2 separate regions of the Homo sapiens genome follow, and region 1 is linked to region 2. The links are contacts of gene promoters, found by promoter capture Hi-C in human tissues and cell types (Jung and others, 2019). All regions are on one chromosome and are shown on one strand. Each heading gives the region's core, a stretch centred on a gene start or on the middle of the fragment in contact. The rest is flanking DNA. Distances are from core to core; before and after follow the strand shown.

Region 1 (6,932 bases), core at 730-3,229, 1.1 Mb before region 2:
TTTTTAAACATGTATCATTCTTTGCTTTTTAAATGAAATGTAGGGAACCTGACTTAGCATATACCCTGTAATTTGTAGTTTCTGCCTAGGGAGTTAGGAGGGGGACAGTTTAGAAAGAGGTGGCAGGGCTAGGGGTCTTTTCTTAGAACAGACCATTATCTTGTGTACTCGAAGGGTGTTATTTGCAAGCAAAAGACTCAAAACCATTGGTGTATGTATGTTTCCACAAGTTTAAATTCATTTTTCAGGCATTCACTTTAATGAGGCACCTGTGTACTGGAAGTGAGACACCAGTGCCTAACTGTTAGTCCCATCGAATCAGTCAACAAATACATACGTTATGTAAGTAAGGCACTTGTACACGGATCTTGGAACATGCTCCCCACCCCACCCCCGCAAAACCAAACAGTTATGTCATAAACTTACAGAATTGTTCAAGCTAGGTGTAATCTTAAATCATTGATCTGGCTTAATGGGAATGTGTTTGGTATTCTATTTTTGTGTGTATTTTTATATTGCTTTGAAAATTGCATTTATAAAATCATACTTATGGCATGTTTATTAAATAGGTTTTTTTAAAAATAAAAAGCTGGAGAAGACACTTGATGCTTGTAACCTCCAACCCTTGTTTCCGACATTTACATAACTTAAAGTTTTAACAAATATTAAGATAAACACTTCAAGAGGCATTTCAGCAATTTTTAATGCCTGTTTTTTCTTTTGAAAAATCTTTTCTTGGCAATCAAATTTCTATCAAATTCAGAAACATTGTATTTTTGTAAATGTACTGGATGTATAGTTTTTTTTATTTTGAGCTCATTCTGTAAGTTTTTGCTAAGTTAAAAATATCAGTCTTGATGTTTGTTTTACATTTTTTGCCAGAAAACATTTGTAGATTTGAAGATACTTAAAATATTTTCATTTACATTTCTTAAGATGACAATTTTAATTTCTACAAATGCTAAGCAAATACTTTCATTTATTTCTAAGAAAAATAATCTAAAACATTTATCATTCTTACAGTTAAGTAGTTATTCTTCATGTTTTACATTTGAAAGAGCTGAGTTTAAGTGAAAAATCAGTAGTGAATATGAAGGTATGAATTCTGCACACTTTACCAGCCACATGTGCTGTTAACTTTTTTTTTTTTTGGAGACAGAGTTTTCACCCAGGCTGGAGTGCAGTGGCACGAACTCAGCTTACTGCAACCTCTGCCTCTCAGGTTCAAGTGATTCTCCTGCCTCATCCTCCCGAGTAGCTGGGATTACAGGCACCCGCCATCACGCCCAGCTAATTTTTGTGTTTTTAGTAGAGACGGGTTTCACCATGTTGGCCGGGCTGGTCTTGAATTCCTGACCTCAGGTAATCCACCTCCCTCAGCCTCCCAAAGTGTTAGGATTACAGGTGTGAGCTACCATGCCTGGCCTTAACATTTAAATTAAAGTAAAATAATATTAAAAATTCAGTTCCTCCATCACATAGCCACATTTTAAGTGCTTCATAGCCACATGTGGCTAGTGTCTGCCATATTGGACAACACAGATAATGTTTCCATCATGGCAGAGAGAGAAACAAAGGAAAATGAGTAATTATTATGAAGTGAGTCAAGAGACAAAGGTAATGGTAACTAGGACCCTGAAGGCATTTATGCTACTGGGGAAGAAGAAAGAATGCTGGTTCCTTCATTCTGTACCATTAGCCTGCTAGGGTTTCTGATTCCTCTGTTGATAAATATTGCTCTATGACATATATAAAAATGGAGGGAAATACTGGAGAAGGAATGGACAAGTTGAAAAGAGGTCTACCACAGTTTTAAAAAATCTGGACACGTGGTATTTAACTCATGTCGTGTACCTGCTCAGAAGCAATGACATCAACTTATTGATTCAACTAAAAAGCTTGTTAAGTGTGTTGTGGTAGTTTGTGAATGAAGTACTTTTTATTCCTTCAGTGCCAAGACTTCATTAGCTTTTTAAAAACGAAAACGAATTTATTGGGGTGAAACTGACATAACATAAAATTAATCCTATTGAAATGACAATAGGATTCAGTACATTCACCGTGGATGCAGCCACCTCTGTCTAGTTCCAAACATTTCGTTCACTCCAGAGTAAAACCCCTCACCCATTAAGCAGTTCCTCCCCATTGCCCCGCCCCCACCCTCAGCTCCCACACCCAGCCCTGGTAACCAGCAATCTGTTTTCTCTCTGGGTTAACTCTAGATATTTTATATAAATGGGATCACAAAATATGAAACTTTGTGTATCTGGCTTCTTTCACTTAGCAAAATGTTTCCAAGGTTTATCCAAGTTTTAGCATATATCAGTACTTCTTTTTTTGTGTGTGATTCCGTAGGGATTCCATTGTATGGCTATACCACCATTTGTTTACCCATTCATCTACTGATGGACATTTGGGCTATTTCCACTTTTTAGCTATTGTGAATAGTGCTGCTATGAACATGAATGGACATGTTGAAGGACCTGTTTTCAGTTCTTTTGGGTATATAAATAAGAGCGGAATTACAGGGTCATACGGTAATTTTATGCTTAACTTTTGAGGAGCCACCAAAAAGTGGCTGAGCCATTTTACATTACCGCCAGCAGTGCACAATGGTTCCAGTTTCTCCACATTCTTGCCAACACTTGTTACTTTTCTTTTTTTGTTAGTGTTACAGCTGTCATAGTGGGTATGAAGTGTCACCTTATTGTAGTTTTGATTTGCATTTCCCTAATGCTAATGATGTTGAGCATCTCTACATGTGCTTGTTGGTCATTTGCATATCTTCTTGGGAGAAATGTCTGTTCAGATCCTTTGCCCATTTTTTAATTGAGTTGTTGTTTTGTGGTTGAATTGTAAGGGTTCTTTTTATAGTCTGGATGCTAGACCTTTGCCAGATATATGATTTGTAAGTATTTTCTCCCATTCTGTAGGTTGTGTTTTTTATTTTCTTGTAGTGGCCTGTAATACACACAAGTTTTTACATTTTGATGACATCCAGTGTATCTATTTTTTTTTTTTTGAGATGAGTCTCATTCTATTGCCAGGCTGGAGTGCAGTGGCACCATCTTGGCTCACTGCAACCTCTGCCTCCTGGGTTCAAGCGATTCTCCTGCCTCAGCCTCCCAAATAGCTAGGACTACAGGTGTGTGCCACCATGCCCAGCTAATGTTTATATTTTTAGTAGACATGGGGTTTCACCATGTTGGCCAGGATGGTCTCCATCCCTTGACCTCATGATCCACTTGCCTCAGCCTCTCAAAGTGCTGGAATTACAGGCGTGAGCCACCGCATCCAGCCCTATTTTTCTTTTATTTATTTATTTATATATTTATTTAGAGATGGAGTCTCACTCTGTTGCCCAAGCTGGAGTACAGTGGCGTGATCTCAGCTCACTGCAACCTCCCCCTCCTGGGTTCAAGGGATTCTCTTGCCTCAGCCTCCAGAGTAGCTGGTACTATAGGCGCATGCCACCACGCCCGGCTAATTTTTTTGTATTTTTAGTAGAGATGAGGTTTGACCATGTTGGTCGGGCTGGTCTCGAACTCTTGACTTCAAATGATCCACCCACTTTGGCCTCCCAAAATGTTGAGATTACAGGCTTGAGCCACTGCACCTGGCCAGTGTATCTATTTTTCTGTTGCTGCTCATGCTTTTGATGTAATAGCTATGAATTCATTGCCAAATCTAAGATTATGGAGATTTACTCCTATGTTTTCTTCTATGAAGTGTGGTTTTAGCTCTTAAATTTAAGTTGTTGATCCATTTTGAGTTAATTTTTGTATATGGTATGAGATAGTGGTCCAAATTCATTCTGCTTTCTTCTGCTTTTTATAGCTTGTATAACAACCCAAATGCATTTAATCTGTGACTTCTTTGAAATGTGTTGTTAGAAGCCAGGATGGAGCAGGTTTTGCCAAACCCTGAGTCCTAGTGGCTTGTAACAGCACACATATTTCTTGTCTACACTGTACTAGTCTCTCAGAGCCTGGAGCCTCTGCCCAGGAATGAAGCTGACAAAACGTCCACCGTCTGGTGGTCACTGTGGAAGGGGTGAGGTCTTTTGCACTCAATCTTGTCAAGGCTTCCTCTTTGGCTTAATTTCACTGACCAAGCTAGTCACTTAGCCATGGCCAGCTTGATGAAAGATGTGCAGTCCTAGCAGGTGTTCGGAAAGAGAAGGAAAGAAAGTAGGTAATGCACAGTGCCCACCAGAAAATACTATTGAACATGGTGGTGTTTGCAAAATATTTGACGTATTTGTTCCAAGTTAAAAAATTTTAAAACATTCCCATTTAAGTGGAGTCTAAAAGAATATGGTAAAGCATCATTGATTCAGAATTTGGGGTAAGTTTTATACTAACTGTGCTTGCTGAAGTTTACTTTTTCATTATTGTAAAGAAAAGTTGTTTAGCTAGATAATAATGTAAATGAGATTTAATGAAGAGAATCCTTGGCTTGATTTAGAGAAACAATTTCTAGGTAATTTAGTAGGAGGTATCTGAGTACATGTTATGTTTATCTGATAAACTTTTCTGTTTCAAATTGTGAAAAAAGAAGGTAATAATAGATTTGAGAAGCACTTTAAGACTATTGCTTTTATCAGGATTTTAAATTTAAAAACATTAAAAAACTTCATAGCTTGTAAATCCTATGGATTAGGATACACTAGTTTGTGTGGCTTCTGTAATCCAACATTAGAGCTTAGTTACCCACAAAGTAACAAAAATTCTGACATTAATTTCTAGTTGTCTAGTCTCTTATATGCTGTACCTAAATTATAGAAGTGTAAAAATTAAAACGTATAACATTTCTCAGCTACATTGCTAAAAATATGGCATTAGAAAACAGAGAGTGATATTATGGAACACCAGTAGGTGTCAGTCACAGCCTGTGCAAGGGCTGATTACTTGCCAGGAGTTTTGGGCATCTATTCCTAAGTGTGTGGTGTGTTTTTTTTTGTTTGTTTTTGTTTTTTGAGATGGAGTCTCACTCTGTCACCCAGGCTGGAGTGCAGTGGCGCGATCTTGGCTCACTGCAAGCTCTGCCTCCCGGGTTCAGGCCATTTTCCTGCCTCAGCCTCCTGAGTAGCTGGGACTACAGGCACTCACCACCACGCCCGGCTAATTTTTTGTATTTTTTAGTAGAGACAGGGTTTCACCGTGTTAGACAGGATGGTCTTGATCTGCTGACCTCGTGATCTGCCCGCCTCGGCCTCCCAAAGTGCTGAGATTACAGGCGTGAGCCACCGTGCCCGGCCGTGTCTGTGTGTTTTAAGGCGTTATTCTAATGAACTGCAATTTTCTCAAAGTGAATGTGCTTATTTTTAAATAAAAACACAATGTATCTACTTGTTAATAAAGACATAGAGATGCTCTATTGGCAACAGAAGCATTATTTCAGTGCTTAATTGTGTGTAGAGCTACACCTCAAAAGAACTAACTAGTTTGTCATGGAAAGATTAGAATGCTATTTGATGGAGCCAAGTAGACATCCAGAAAGAATGACCGTGGAGTGTGTGAATTAGCCAGATATAGTATTGGTATTAGCAGATGAAACTAGGTGAAGGTCTAACAGTCAAACAGCATTTCTTTTTGGACAAATCTTTCCTTTTTATAGGAACAGCTATAATTAAGGCCCTCCACCCACTGGTTCCCTAGTTTTTCTAGGATGCTTTGTATGTATGCCCATAAACGGAAGCGTATATTCTCAAGGGAGATACTGATAATAAAAACAAAACATTCCAGGGATTTAGACGGATCCACAAGGAACATCTGAGAAATGACTAGTTATGATGGATCTTGTTGCATATATCAGTATAGAAATATGGGGCAAAAAGAATCACAGCTTTCAGCATTTGAAAATGAAATACAAATGGTACTGTCAAGAGTGAGTATTCAAAAATGCTTCCTTGACTTCATAACAATATTCATATTCAATGATACTTGGTTATCACAAAAGGGAAGGATATGTATATATAAGCAGTTTGTGATACTGTTGCTAAGTATTTAAATACATCAGTATGCCAGTATGACATTAATAATGACATTTTCTGGTTTAAAATAAACCAGTGATTTTCCATTGTGTTCAGGATTTTTTAAAAGCTAGTCCTTAGTATAAAATATAAGCCTTTAGTGTTCTGTTCCTTGCCATTCTCTGTAAAATCTCACATCTTCATACCTAATGGCCCAGACATACCAAACTAATGTCATTTGTCTTAGTGAGTGTTTAGATCTCAAATTGTATATAACTGATTAATCAATTGTATAACAGCTTATGCTGCACACAGCAGATCTTAAAATTCAATTTTAATTTTTTCAATTATAAAAGACACATGCTTATTTTTAAAAATTCAAGTTTATGAAAAATTTCTTGGTTATTTAAAATAGTCAACTTTCTAGTACCTAACACGTTAGTTTTTCTATTGACATGATTGTTTTTCTAACAGGATTTTTGAAAATGTAAGATTTCTTCGGGAGTGCTGTTATGTAGTTATAGCAGAATGGATTGTATTTGCAGTTTCCCAATTGTACTTGTTCTCTTTTGGCTTTTCATATGTTGCTTCTTGTGCTTAGAAAGCTATACAGAACTACTCTCCTCTCCATTCCATGTCATCCTCTTATAATTTATGTCTTTTGGAACTCGGGTCAGACCTAATGTCTTCTAAAAAGCCATTCCTGATTCATTATTATTGATACACAGTTTACCCTATAGTAGCTTGAATGTAAATGAAAAAAAAATTAGTTTTGACTCAGTGTGCTCCTTCAGCCTTTCGACTCTTTCTTTTCGTATGTGTAAATTTGAACCCCCTATGTGTGTGTGAGAGAAAGAGAGAGAGATATTATATGTATATATATGCCTATATACTTGTGTGTGTGCGTATGCAGACTGGCTTTCAGTTATTTACAGGAGGCTTTCTCCACTACCCAGTA
Region 2 (6,969 bases), core at 4,102-6,601:
TGATGTATTATAATGCAGACCCTTCCAATGGGTCTCCACACCATATAATTTTTGACAAGACTAACTCCTACTCAGCTGTTCTCCATCGAGTAGGCTGCATTATAAAGCTGGGCAATTTTGTAAATCAATCAATCGAAAGGGTTTGAAAACTCTTTTCTAAAGAAAGAAGTAGTAACATCCCAAACCTGCTTTCTCATCACAGGAGTCGTACACGTGCAGGCTGCCCTCTTAAAAGTGGGGTCCCCAACACTTCTAACCTAAGCTGCCTACTCATCAGCTGGCTGAGCTCACCCAGGCTGGAGTGCATTGGCGGGATCTCACCTCACTGCAAGCTCCACCTCCCAGGTTCAAGCGATTCTCCTGCCTCAGCCTCCCGAGTAGCTGGGATTACAGGCGCCCACCACCATGCCCAGCTAATTTTTTGTATCTTTAGTAGAGACGAGGTTTCACCATGTTGGCCAAGACTGGTCTTGAGCTCCTGACCTGCTGGTCCACCCACCTCGGCCTTCCAAAGTGCTGGGATTACAGGCGTAAGCCACCGCACCTGGCTGCCCCCATCTATTCTTATCTGGACTACACTTGCTCCCCTATAAATTAGAGGTATGCATTCTCTAAAGTTCTCAAGTGGACTGGAATAGCTGTACGGAACTATGAATGTCCCATGTGCCACAAATGACGTGCTACCAACATGGACACGTGGTCTGCAGTCAGGCTGACCAGTCAGAGTGAGGTGGGCTGGGCCACCAGACTGACCCCAGTGATTCCAAATAAGAGTCCTACAGCATGTGGCTGTGGCAACAGAAGAGCTATGGTAGGAGGATCCCCGACCTTCTCACAGTCCTTCAAGGTGGCCTGGAACGTGGATCCCTGACCTTCTCACAGTCCTTCAAGGTGACCTGGAACGCGGTTATGGCTTAATGTTTTGCAGCCCAGAGCTCCTTGGTGGTCTGTCTGGTCCCACCATCTCACAGTGTGCCCCTGGCAGGCCACAGCTTTTTCCAAGAAGGGGTGGACACATTCCAGTGGGTGGCCTTCCCAAGCTTTGTGAGTATCATCCAAGAAAGGATGGCCACTGCTTGGCAGACCAAACCCGACAGCAGGGGGCCTCCAGCCCTCCCCTCCTCTCGTTCACTCTTCCTAAAACAAGTCCTCCAGCCACTCACTTCAGACAAGCTGCAAAGATTCTTTTCAGAGCCTGACGCTCATGCTGTTCTTGAAGTGCCCTCTCCGCTATCCTGTCTACCTATGAAGTTCAGCCTGATTCCAATTCCACTGGCCTTCCACGATCCAGTCCTGATCACAGAGGCAGCTGATCCGAACTTACATAAATTCACGAAGAGTGTAAAGGCCTTCCTCAGACACCTGAAGTTCATGCTTTGAAATGATATGCTCATAGAAACACTTCCAAAAAACCCATGCTCTAAAGACTCTTGGAAATGTAAATACAATGAAGAAGCATAAACAGAAAACAATTAATACTTAAGTCTATGGCCTTTGAAGATCCAAAAGGCGCAGCTGGCCCAGCTTTTCAGGATAAGACACCAAGAAAGGAATGCGGCAGGCCCATGCCTCTATCTGCTGTCAAAAGGAAAAGGAGCAAAAATGGAACAGGTGCTTTACTCTCCATGGCCCCTAAACAGCTACGGAATGATCTATTCTAATAATTCGTCTCCTTTAAACAGACAGCAAACATCTCTGGAGACAAACAGCACAGATTCCATGCAACATGGAATAGAACGTGTGTGCCCCCAGCCCAGGCACTCAACACTCTCTACTGAGCCCTTTAGGAGATGTTCAATACAGTGGGACTTACCAGCAATTAACATGATACTCAACATCCGGAACGAAGTTTTGTTGAACGTGGCCACATCCATTCGCTCGTATGCCATCCGTAGCTGTAGCTGCTTTCACACTGAAAGGGCAGCTTTGAGCAGCTGCAACAAAGGCTATGTGGCCCCCAAAGCCTAAACTATTTATTTTCTGGTCCTTAAGAGAAGAAGTTTGCCCGACTCTTGCTCATTTTTAGATACAAGGACACTTCGAAATGCCCCTCCTCCATGGCCACCAAAAATCATCTACTTATAGCCTCCCTTCCCACACCTTATAGCCGAGCCTGTCGTAGCAAATACACACACACACAACTCCACATCTCCACTCACAGAGCTTCTACCACAGTACCACAGTCAAGAGGGACTAACACAACATCATCAGCCACCTGAACTGAGAACCAAAGTCAAAGCTAGTCTGCAATGCAAACTTGGTTAGCCCAAATTCCTGTTGCTTTCTTTTCTTTACGCTTTCAGGACCACCTTGCAAACAAAGGGTCCACCTCCAAGTCACCCCACTGTCTCTTCCCTCCGGCCTTCAGTACGTACAGAGGGGGAAGTGTCCAATGTCCAGCTCACACGAACGGGATGAACAAGGCAGACTAAACAACAGAAGTGTCTGCTCCGGCAGGAATTTAAAAGCTGAAGTCTTAGAGGTACAACCGCCACTGGCACACACTGAACTCAGCCTGTTGGCCAGGTTCCTTTATCTAAAGCACAGCACCCTCACATGGTGCTAAAGGGAAGGACAGTCTTGCCGAGAAGCTGGCTGAGATGCCATCTATGACAGGGCCCAGCCCTCATTCTGCAAGGATTTTAAATCAATGTTATCCAGCTTTCCACCTCGGCGCCTTCACAGATAGCTCCTTGCTGGAAACTTTACACCAAGAAGTATAAACTCTGACCTCTACAGAAACTCACTAAACCGCAGCAAATGGGATTCAGATGTTTCCATGTACAGTACAATGATGTGACTTAGACTTTAAACACTTTGGCAAAAACAGGAAAAATGATGTGGCCCTTCCAGTCCCTCCCAGAACATGATACAGCCTTGACCCGAGCCCTACAGTGATCTGAGCCTTTCTCACTCCTACTTAAGCCTCCTTGCCTACAACCCACATTCCCCGCCCCAGGTCCACATTCCCCGCCCCAGGTCCACATTCCCCGCCCCAGGTCCACATTCCCCGCCCCAGGTCCACATTCCCCGCCCCAGGTCCACATTCCCCGCCCCAGGTCCACATTAGCTCCTTCCTACCAGGCCCCCTCCAAGGGTCTATATCACTTTCCTTGTTTCACCAAAGTTGCCTATTTTTCCCAGCTGAGCAAAAGTCTATCATACCCTAATCAGAACTCAGAAAATTCCTGAAAGGAGAGCCAGACTGATCTAGGAAACTACACACAGAGATACCCGCAGGACTGGGAAGAAAGAGAGGTCTCACATAAGACCTTGCACCCCCAGCCTTCTAGCTTCGTAGATTCTCGAGGACTCGCCACAGACTCTGTGAGTAAGGGCTGGAGAATTCTAGATGGTGGCACAAGAAAAGGTGGAGGTGTGGGGAGCAGTTTCTTGTGCCTGGGAAGGACAGACACAAACTAATATCAGAAACTGCCTCCCCAGAGGCCAGTCATGACAGAAGACAGAGAACCCCTGCGGTTCATGCTCTGGGTCCATACCAAGCTTCGCTGGGGGCAGCCCATCTGCCGGCCATGTGTGCGGCTTTCGGGGCACGATGGAGAAGCTGAGTGCTCGTCTGGGCGCCAGTGTAGCCACATGATCAAGTGTGCGCGCAGGCAGGGCAAGTGCACACAAGAACCCCCCCTCCCCCTGGGAGCACCTGTTCCGGGTGCCTCAAATGCAACAGGCCAGGAACTTCGGGGCAGGGAAGTTACTGCCACAGCAAGGGAGCTCCTGGGGGCAGGAATAGGGTTTATCACCAATGTAAACACCCCTCAGGCCTGGTTGGGGGTGGGCACCAGATAAATGCCTACTAATAGTATAAGGAAGCAAAGACAAACACCCTTTCTCTCCTGTTTCTTACGTTTCAGCTAGGAAGAGTGGGGTGAGCCGTGGCCTGTCTGGGTACCTCTCCAAACTTCCTGTTCCAGGTACAGAGAGAAGACTCAAAAGGAAGGGAGGTGAATGCCCACTCCCCCACCTCCAAGTCCAAGAACATAACACCTACACGTACACAGGTACTCCCGTGACATACACTTTGACACGGCGGTGCAGATGCAGTGTTCTCTACATTGGGGCCAAGGCGCCTCTGTCCAGGGCCCTGACAGTTTCATCCCTGCCAGATCTGCGCTCCCTAGAGCGGGCGGCGTATACCCCACGCAACCCCAGCTCCGCGCGGGTTCCACGGGCTGCAGAGGCGCTGGACTGGGATGCTGCCCCTCCCACCCCCTTTGCCTATAGAGGGTACCGAAGGCCGGGGTGGGGGATGGGGAGAGGTGGAAAGGCAGGGGGTTCCCTCCGGTTCCCCTGGAGGCTGGACTTCCAGCAGAGGCGCCCCACCCCCACCCTCCACGGCGACCACTCTGCGTCGCAACAGACCGGACGGGCCGACCCGGAGGTGGCGCGGGCAGTACCAGGCCGCCGGCGGCGCCGCAGGCGCTGAGCGAGACGAGGGAGCCGGGGTGGCCGAGCACACGGCCCGAGTAGAAGCACAGCTCGGCGGGGCGGCCGCGGCGCCGGGCCGCGCCCGCCTCCTCCACCTCGAAGCCTCGGGACAGGAAGCGCAGGTCGCGGCGCAGCTGAAGGTACAGGTCGCGCCCGAAGGCCGGCAGGTGCAGCAGCAGGGCGCGCTCTCCGGGCCGGGCGCGCGGGGCGGCTGGGGGCGTGCGGGGGCGTCGCCGCCGTCGGGGCCCGGGGGCTGCGGGCAGCGGCGGCAGGTGCACGTCGTCGGGGCGCACCCGCCACGGGAGCACCACCTCCACGTCGGCCGCCGCGTCGCCGACAGCTGCGGGGAGAGAGGAGACGCGTCAGCGCGGCGGGGCCCGCCCGGACGCCCGCCCTCCCGCTGGCCGCCAGCCGCGCCAGCGCGGGGACAGCGCGACCCGGAGCCGGCGCTGCCTTCCCTTCCCTCGCCCGGCACCTCCACGCTGGCCCGCGCCACCCGGGGAGGGTCTCCGGCGCAGCCGCGCGAGCACCTCCCGGAACGGCGCCGCGCATCGGCGAGCGGAGACCCGGCGGCGGCGCGCCTGCCACGGAGCCACCCGATTCCCGTACTCCGGCCGCGGCCCGCGCCTCCTCCGCTCGGGCGCCGTCAGCGGTCCCGCCGCCGCCCCCGGGCCGCCAGGACGCCGCGAGAACGCAGAGGGAAGGTAGCCGCAGGACGCGGGGTGAAGAGGGCTGTGGGAGGGGGCGCTACCTGTGCCCGGGTCCAGTCCCCAAACCAGCAGCAGCAGCACGGGCAGGACGAGCGGAGGCAGCAGGGCGCCGTCACACATGGTACCCGGGACCGGCAGCCCCCCCGGACCGTGGCGGCGAAGCAGGAGCGCGCTAGGCGGCGGCGCCAGCCGGAGTGAAGCCCTCCAGCCTTTGGAAAAAGTAATTAGCGCTGCGGACAAACCCAACGTGGTAAACCCCAAGCCCCGCCTTCCCCTCGGAAGGCGGGAGGGGATTGGGCCCTCGCTTTCCTCCGCCCCGCCTCCTCCTTCCCTACTGGTTGGGATGGGTCGAAACCACAGTGCGTAGTTAGGTTGTCAGCGCTTTCTTACACGTGGTTTCTGGGCAGTGGCGGGGACACGGCACCAGGTGGCGCGCGGGAGCCGACCGGAGCCGTGGGACCCTGGAAGAGCTGGAGGATGCGGGGCTGGTCTTCAGAGCTTGTCCTCATTTTGGAACTCTCTCAGCCTGCTGCCCAGTTTCCCGGGAAGGTAGGGCGGAAATCGCCCCGGCCAAGCGGTTTCATCCAAAACTGCATATAATCTTTACATCTGAAGTTAGGTTTTAGTTGTTTGTGGCCGCAAAGACTCCCAGTCCACTTTCCCGCACACCTGAGTTAGCACCTGAAGGCTATATCCGCGGCGTTTATCCAAACTCTTCACACCTCCTGTCTTCTTTAATCCCACAGGAGCCAGTGCAACACGCATGCTCACACCCTCTTACAGACTGAAAAACTGAGGAAGAGAGAGAGCTTAAGGAAAAACGCTGAAGTTACCCAGAGAGTTCCTGTTGGAGCAGAGGCTAGAATTTGTGATCCTGATTTCTGGCTTGGTGCTTCTTATTAACAGCAGGATCCCCCCGCCCCGAGGGAAGCAGGACTCAGTGTTACAGGTTAGGAAACGGAGGCACAAAGTCCCAAAGCCTAGCCTTGAACGTGAGTCTCCCAGAAACAGAATGAGTTGATCCTTTCCTGCCACAATATAACTGAGGTCTGCAGGGAAGGTGACTCCATTAGCTTGCTGAATAGCATCTTGTAGAGGCTCATGCCTGTAATCCCAGCACTTTGGGAGGCCAAGGCGGGCGGGTCACGAAGTCAGGGGTTCCAGACTAGCCTGGCCAATATGGTGAAACCCTGTCTCTACTAAAAATACAAAAATTAGCCAGGCGTGATGGCGCACACCTGTAGTCCCAGCTACTCGGGAGGCTAAGGCAGAAGAATCGCTTGAACCCGGGGGGTGGAGGTTGCAGTGAGCCGAGATTGTGCCACTGCACTCCAGCCTGGGCAACAGAGCAAGACTCCATCTCAAAAAAACAAAACAAAACCAAACAAAACAAAAAAAACAATTAAGTGTAACCATAACCAATCTCAGGTTTCCCGTCCCTTCCCTGTCCTGCTCTTTTCCATTTTATCATAGCAGAAAGGTTATAGTTCCCCGCTGGATGCTGCTTGAAGCCTCGGAATCTAAATTCATCACAGGATTACATATCATCTGAAGGAATCTATAACACTGGCCACCTTCCCCGAAATATAATGAACCCCAAGGCTGAACAGTGACCCTCCACAGAGGCTTGCCACAAAAGGGGCTGCCCTCACTGCTTGGCACCTACAGTTCTGGGGGCATCTGCACAGGTCCTGCTCTTGGCCAGGCCTGGGGCTGTGTTTCTCCCCCTTGCCTCTGTCCAGGTCAACAACCTCAGATGACTGACAGCTCAGTAGCATTTTCTGGCAGCACAAGAAACCTTGGTGATTGAGGT

The links. The method cuts DNA at HindIII sites, captures the fragments that hold promoters and counts their contacts. A contact is called where the count stands out against the background at its distance.
Region 1: a fragment that was not itself captured here is called in contact with the fragment with the promoter of ADAMTS17 in region 2 in 1 of the 25 tissues and cell types used here (dorsolateral prefrontal cortex).

Annotation. Positions count from the first base shown.
Region 1 is chr15:99,268,277-99,275,208 of GRCh38, forward strand. All of the region lies in intron 2 of LRRC28 (leucine rich repeat containing 28), which reads left to right. Among named protein-coding and RNA genes, the nearest start is that of LRRC28, 20 kb to the left of the region's middle. The HindIII fragment of the contact is 5,601 bases long and covers 1-4,780 here.
Region 2 is chr15:100,336,624-100,343,592 of GRCh38, forward strand. ADAMTS17 (ADAM metallopeptidase with thrombospondin type 1 motif 17) reads right to left here and starts at 5,352. Exons shown (of 22, transcript NM_139057.4): 1 at 5,198-5,352; 2 at 4,416-4,786. The coding sequence starts at 5,276. RefSeq lists an enhancer at 3,686-4,204. The HindIII fragment of the contact is 7,903 bases long and covers 2,273-6,969 here.